Linked DNA regions of Homo sapiens: region 2 is linked to region 1. The links are contacts of gene promoters, found by promoter capture Hi-C in blood cells and fetal thymus (Javierre and others, 2016). All regions are on one chromosome and are shown on one strand. The core of a region is centred on a gene start or on the middle of the fragment in contact, and the rest is flanking DNA. Distances in the headings are between cores, read along the strand shown. Region 1 holds the start of KIAA1958. Region 2 overlaps SHOC1 (shortage in chiasmata 1).

What was found. The method cuts DNA at HindIII sites, captures the fragments that hold promoters and counts their contacts. A CHiCAGO score of 5 or more calls a contact.
Region 2: a contact is called between a fragment that was not itself captured here and the fragment with the promoter of KIAA1958 in region 1, in 1 of 17 cell types (fetal thymus). The highest score is 5.1, in fetal thymus.

The regions. Positions count from the first base shown.
Region 1 is chr9:112,484,560-112,488,076 of GRCh38, reverse strand. KIAA1958 reads right to left here and starts at 1,250. Exons shown (of 4, transcript NM_133465.4): 1 at 959-1,250. HSDL2-AS1 (HSDL2 antisense RNA 1) reads left to right here and starts at 433. Exons shown (of 5, transcript NR_171779.1): 1 at 433-1,098; 2 at 1,536-1,687. RefSeq lists silencers at 652-1,141, 1,222-1,281 and an enhancer at 1,712-1,771. The HindIII fragment of the contact is 12,105 bases long and covers 1-3,517 here.
Region 2 is chr9:111,757,737-111,761,628 of GRCh38, reverse strand. SHOC1 (shortage in chiasmata 1) reads left to right here. Exons shown (of 28, transcript NM_001378211.1): 6 at 2,781-2,934; 7 at 3,434-3,545. Among named protein-coding and RNA genes, the nearest start is that of SHOC1, 35 kb to the left of the region's middle. The HindIII fragment of the contact is 1,317 bases long and covers 1,688-3,004 here.

The sequences.
Region 1 (3,517 bases), core at 1-2,500:
ACCTGACTGGCTTGTTAGCTGTTTATTTCGTCGGGAGAGGATTCCGTCTTGCGAATCCTAACGAGTTCGGGAAAAAACAAAACTTTACTCCTAAACTTCAAAACACACACACACACACACACACACACACGCACACACACTAAATACATATAATTGTAAAAATCACAGCCACGTTCATTTTTTTTAAAGTCCCAATCTAAAACCTTAAAGAAAAAAAAAGACTTGAAGGAACCAAAAACATTCTTTGATTTTGGTTTGACGTTGTTCAGTCCAACCTCCTCCTACCCAGGGGAATACATTTCTCGATATATTTGATAACAAACACAAATCACTGTGCGCAGCCTCAGATGGGGGTGGGGGGGCGGAAGAGCCTTTTGGAGAAAGCCCTCCTCCGTTAGAAACAATAAATAAGGGAGCGAAGCCATGCACGTTCCTTCACACACGCCCCAAACGCACCTCGGCGAGCCACCCGAGGAGGAAAACTAGTGGGGCAGAGCCCTGAACCACCTCTCTTTCTCCATAAGCATCTCAAGACTTGGAAACTAAGAGGACAGACCTTTTCCTCCTCCTTCCCGCCCTCCTTCCCACCTCCGACAGACCCAAGAGCAGGAGCGGGGGCGCCAGCCCCACGCACTGCGCCTGCAGCCGCCGCTGAGACCCGAGCTGCCGGGCGGCGGGGCGGCCCGGGGCAGGCGGACCGGAGCCGCCACCGGGGGTCTCTGCGCCTCGCACCCCCAAGCCCGGCGCTGCCGACGAGCGGCCGCCCGGGTCCCTGCCCTCGCTCCGGCCTCGCTCCCCCGAGAGGAGACAAAAGGAAGGTTCAGCCGGGTCACCGCGCGGCCGCTGACGGGGAAGCAGAGTCGACCCCGGCGCGGCCGCCCCCCACACAAAGGGGCTCCCCGCCTGGGTCGCGGCGTCGGCGCACTCGTCCCCGCCCCGCGCGCGGGCTCTCACCCACCTGCAGGTGTCTGTGCGTCTGTCCATAGGAACGCGGTCGGCGCGGGGGGGCCTGCGAGAGCCGGGCAGCCCGGGCTGGACGGGACGGGCCGAAGGGGCGCGAGGGCGGGAGGAGAGCGGCCAGAGGGCCGGGCACCAAAGGTAAGTGGAGCGGGGAAGGCGCCCGGCGGGCGGCGGACCGAGGAGCGGGGCGGGGGGCGGGGGCGCCAGCCTGGCTCGGCCGACCGCCGCGCGCCGCTCCGTGCGCCCCGAGCTCCGCGCGCCCGGCTCGGAGCGCGGCGGGCGGGCAGGGGGCGGGGCGCGGGCGGGCCGGGGCGGGGCCGGCGAGCGGGGCGGGGGCTCGGACCCCGGGCTCCAGCCGGCACCGGAAACGCGCCGTGGTCGGCGAGACCCACAGGAAGTGTGTAACGACACCTCCTACGGCACGCACCGAGCTCGCAGTCGTTGCTGCCCCGAGGAGGTGTAGATCGAGCCTCCTGCCGCACACACGTTCGCACGCGGCGGCCGGCGCGCTGGACCGAGAGGTTGGAGCAATCCATCCTCCGCGCGCACGAGCTCAGTCCCTACTGCCCCGACAGGTGTGGAACCCGCCGTCCCCGCTATGGTCCGAGGAAGTGTACAGCACTGCTCCCTACTACACGTCCTGGGCCCGCGGTCCCCGATGCCCCCCGGAGCTCTGTGCACCTCCACTGAAACGCAAGGAGCAGACAGAACCTACACCATCCGTGAGGTGTGTGATTTCCCTTATAACGCATTGAGTAGAGTTACCTCTCCGCCCAGGGATGTGCATTAACACTTTCTACCGAGATACTACGTACAGCCCATAGTCACCGCTGCCCCGTGAAGGTGCCCAACAACCACCTGTAACACACACACCCCTATCCCATCGAGGGAGCGGGGATGCTTAATGATACCTAAAATACACTAAAACTAGGTCCTCCAGCAAACCAGAGACACAAGAACACCACCTACACGACTCAGCACAGCAAAGATGAAGCTGGACTTGCTAGGTGCTACCAGGCTTGGTCCACCTTTATTTTACCTAACACTTTCGTAGTACTTGCTGTGTGCCCACAGTTTGCACTGAGTACTTAGCGAATATTAATTTATTTAATCCTAAGAACTCTACATAGTGGGTGCTATTAACATTGCCATTTTATGATAAGGAAACTGAGGCACAGAGAAATTAAGAAATTTTTTCAACATCACATAGATAGTAGCTAGAGGAGCCTGGATTCATTCCGGACAGTCTGGCTTCAGAGTCTGCTCTTAACTCCCTTTCTATTTACAGCACTGACCATCTCCAAAACAGTAATCATGGTAATAAATAACATTTACACCATATCTGTCAGGCCTTACGTAGTGCCCACATCTTGGCCTCACCTCATCTGTGACAGGCATACCCCAGTCACTTGTACCCTTGGAGTAGGTAAGGGAAGAGAAGAATATTTTTGAGGGAGAGAAAGAAGCTAACTTCTTAGCAAAGGAGAAAATATCCAGGGTCGTCCAGAATCCAAGCAGGTAACTTCATTACCACATCAAGCATGTTCTCTTTTAGGTAGCTTCTGCCAACCCCTCTCCATCTCTAGAGCTGATTCCGGTTGATGTTCTTAACACCTTCCTCTATCAACACTCTTCCAGGTCTAGGCTGAAATTTAAAATCTGTGTAAATGTTGACACAATAATGTTTGTACAAACAAAAAAGACCAAAAATGAAAACCCCCTAGTTAATTGCTGCATATTCTAAAGATGGGATCTTGTGGAGAAATTGGAACTCTTATGCAATGCTGATAGGAATGTAGATGGTACCACCACTATGCAAAACAGTGGGGAAGTTCCTCAAAAAACTAAAACTAGAGCTACCATATGATCCAGCAATCCCACTTCTGGGTAAATATCCAAAAGAATTGAAAGCAGGATATCGAAGAGATATTTGCACATTCATGTTCATTGCAGCACTATTCACAATAGCCAAGAGGTTGAAGCAGCCCAAATGTTCATCAACAGATGAAGAGATGAATGAAAATGTGATATATACATATAATGGAATATTATTCAGCCTTAAAAAGGAAGGAAATCTTATCACAGGCTACAACATAGATGAACCTTGAGGATGTTGTGCCAAGTGCAATAAACCAGTCACAAAAGGACAAATACTGTTATGATTTGACCTATATGAACTATGTAGAGGTATGTAAACTGTGGGATTATGTCAAACTTGTGGAAACAAGACGGTAGAATAGTGGTTGCTAGAGGGTAGAGGGAGGGGAAAATGGTGATATAATGTTTACTGGGTACAGAGTTTCAATTTTGCAAGATGAAAAATTTCTAGAGATGTTACACAATAATGTAAATATAACACCACCGAACTGTACACTTAAAAGTAGTTACAAAGGTAAATTTTAAATTGTTTTTGCCACAATCAACTTCAAAACAAATCTAATTTTATTTGTTTAAAGGATATTTCACTACAATGAATTTTTTTAATGATGCAGGCATCCAACCATGATGAGGTACCTTGTTGAACAAACTAACTCTGCCACTGAGAACGATGAAAGCT
Region 2 (3,892 bases), core at 1,097-3,596, 730 kb after region 1:
AATTGTTTTCTTTTATGGTTTCTTTCATTCCTTTTATACTTAGAAAATTCTTTCTTAATTAGATAAATACTTGTTTGTATTTTCTTGAAGGTGCATGAGGTTTGTTTGTTTGTTTGTTTTTTGTTCTAAGATGGAGTCTTGCTCTGTGGCCCAGGCTGGAGTGCAGTGGTGTGATCTCAGCTAACTGCAACCTCCACCTCCCAGGTTCAAGTGATTCTCCTGCCTCAGCCTCCCGAGTAGCTGGGATTACAGGTCCCCACCACCAAGCCCGGCTAATTTTTGTATTTTTAGTAGAGAGGGGGTTTCGCCATGTAGGCCAGGCTGGTCTCGAACTTCTGACATCCAGTGATCTGCCCACTTCAGCCTCCCAAAGTGCTGGGATTACAGGCATGAGCCACCAGGCCCAGCTGAAGGTGCCTAGTTTTATTTTAGATTTTGATGTATGTTTAAAAGTAGGAATAAAAATCTTTTTCCAAGTGTTTTTGATAATTGCCCCAATATCATTTATGAAATAGTCCTTTCTTTCCCACTGATTAGAAATGCCACTCACATTATATATTAAATCCTTAACCACATTAGAATTCATTTCTGGATTTTCTATTATGATCTATTTTGCCTATTATTGTGTCAGTATCATATAATTTTAACTATTAAATGTATAATTATAATATATAAATAATCTCCTATTTTATTACTTTTTTCTACTCTCATAACTATATTCTTCCAGATTTACTTTGTAATCACTTTTCCAAGTTCTAAAACAGACCTCTTGAAATGGTAATGGGATCCTTTAAAATTTTACCATAGTTAGTCTTTCTAGCTAGGAAAGTGTTTTTTATCTTGCCTTTTTTTCAAATTTTTAAAAAAATGATCTTCAATAAAGTTCTATCATTTCCTGCATATACTTTCTGAATATTTTTATGTTTAGTCCTTGATAGTTCACAAATTGGTATTTTTATGTTTTTTCCATTAATTTTTATGACCAAGTTTTTATATATTAAAAAAAAACATTAATTGTATAATTTTTATCAGATAACTTAGTGAACTCTTTTGTTTTCATTTCATTATCTTGAATTTTCTAGGGAGACAAAAGTGTCCTTTGTAAAGAATAAACCTCTCTTCTTTCATATTAGTAGACCTTTTTCTGCTTCTTTTCATAGTTAACTAGCCAAAATTTTGTTTCCTGGTGACAATTTAATATTCCTCTACAATAGAAGAAAACAGTCTCCTTATATCTGTATAGTACATGTATTAGCTGTAGTAAAATAAGAACTCCAGGGCATGCTGTATAACTCAAAGAAAGTAAGGAAGTGGCACTCTTGCTATAAACAACCTTGGTAGAATTACAAAGAATATTAGTTGTGGTGTGATGCTGCCCTCAAGTGGTTTCATCAAAAAAGGGTGGATGGAAAACAAGACCATATAACTGACTTCAGATGTCAGCCATTTAGTTCCAGAAATATCCAGAATGAGGCTGTAGATAGGGAAGATGGCTGGAGGATCTGTTTAGAAGCAGAAGGTGGATATAGGATATAAATTAATGCTGTTTGGGTTTTTACTATTAATGTGATTTCATTAATACTTACAGAATGGATTATACCAGTAAACCATATTTAACTGTCTCAGATAAGCCCTCCTTAGACATGGAATTGATTGACTAACTTCCTTTGGTGTGTCATGGGAAGCTTTTGGCCATGAGATTGTCAGGAACTTAAGTTCAGATAAATCTCTTTTAGGAAGCTAGTTCATACCACAAGTTCTCTTAAGGCATATCAAGTTAGCACCAAGCAAAGGGATGTTCCCTTGCTGCCTGCATACCAATTATGTAGTTAACCGTGGGAGACATTACTACCTGAAAACTCCGTACTATTCTTTTCTTATGCCATTCAGCGTCACTTAACCGAAAAGTCAATACCCAGGATGAGAAACCATTGCTCTCCCTTCAGGATGGCTTTCTTTTTTGGGAACTTGGCTTTTTGAGTAGTTCTTCATCTGAGCTTATATTTTTCTTTTTCTCTTTCTACTCAAAAACTTATTGAAGAATTGGGGGCAAGTTTATGTTCCTTCCTGTGACTTAGAAACTGTTAAAGCTGTTAGACAGCTAGCCAAGATTCTAAAGAAACCCAGACAAGGCAGGGTGGAGACCGAGAGGAGAAATTTATTCCAGAAATTAACTGTTAGCAGTAGTGTTTCTTAATACATAAGCTATATCATACTCCTCAAGTAGATTCTTTGCTTAAAACTTTCACTGTAAATAATTTTATAGCAACCATGTGAATAACTTAAGAATAATAGAATCAGTCTCATTTGTAGGCACTGTAGACCATCTCCATTCCCTACATGTCAGAGACTCTGGGGGATGAATTGGAGATATTAAGAGGTAAAATGATGCAGAGAAGACCAAGGTCAGCAGAAGTCAAATACTTCTATTTCTTTAAAATTTTGCTTAGGCTACGCCTGGCTATTTTGAAGTGTAAGTCCATAAGATATTTTCCTCCATTGATTAATCTTTATTGATAAAGTATTAGCCGTTACAGCTCTTTTGGGATATTTGGCTATTCCTCGGTGTCCTAGATAATACTAAAATTTATTGTACTTTTGCCTTTGTTCCAGAACTATGCTACATGCTCTATATGCACAGTACAATGAAGAGCTACAGAGTTTAAAATGTGATTGAAAAACCCAGCTGTATCTAATGACTGATTACATTAACTATCTAGATCTCTTTGGATAACTTTTTGTTTTTTTCTTATTCCTTTATATTTCTTATTTCTTTTCAGATTTATTTATTGATGATAAAGGAATACTTTTTGTAAGTAGTAGAAAACACCTACCAACTTTGCCTACTCTCTTGAGTAGACTAAAACTGTTTTTGGTAAAGGATCCTCTTTTAGATTTCAAAGGACAGATCTTCACAGAAGCTAATTTTTCCAGGTACTTACTTAATTGACCAATGCTGTAAATATTTTTAAGAGGTGAAAATGTTTTAGTATGATCACAAGCTTAGATGTTATCAACAATGTTTTTTTTTGTTTTGTTTTGAGATGAGTCTTGCTCTGTCGCCCAGGCTGGAGTACAATGGCGCAATCTCGGCTCACTGCAACCTCCGCCTCCTGGGCACATGCGATTCTCCTGCCTCAGCCTTGCTGAGACTACAGGCGTGCGCCACTGTGCCCAGCTAATTTTTGTATTTTTAGTAGAGACATGGTTTCACCATGTTGGCCAGGCTGGTCTTGAACTCCTGACCTCAGGTGATCCACCCGCCTCGGCCTCCCAAAGTGCTGGGATTACAGGCGTGAGCCACTGCACCCGGCCAATAACTTTTATCATCGTTTTACCTCAACTTTAATTTTAATGATTATGTGTTTTGGTTGGCTACATTTAGTATGTAACTTGCTTTTAGTAAACACTAATTAATGTATTTTTTTTTAAGGGAATGTTTCTCTCTTCAAGAAACTTTGGAAGCTTTTGTGAAAGAAGATTTTTGTATGGATAAAGTGAACTTTTGTCAAGAGAAACTAGAAGATACAATATGTTTAAATGAGGTTGTAATACTGGCTTTCAATAATATTTTAGTAAAAGTAGTGAGGCACATTTTTGTAAAATTTGTGTAATATACATTGTCTACAATTGTCAAATTAAAAAGATTTTATAATGGAATGAACATGTATCAATTAAGAAGTCAAATTTACTTCTAAATAGTGGTTCTCAGCCTTGGCTGTATGTTGGAATTACCTGAATAGTTAAAAAAAAATGTTGAAGCCTGAGATATATTCTGATAAATTGGTCTGGTGTGCAGGCCAGTCATAGGGAACTTTAAAATCTCTTCCAATAATTGTAATCAATATACCTGGTATAGGAAATTAAGTAGTCATGTCTAGTTTAAAAATTG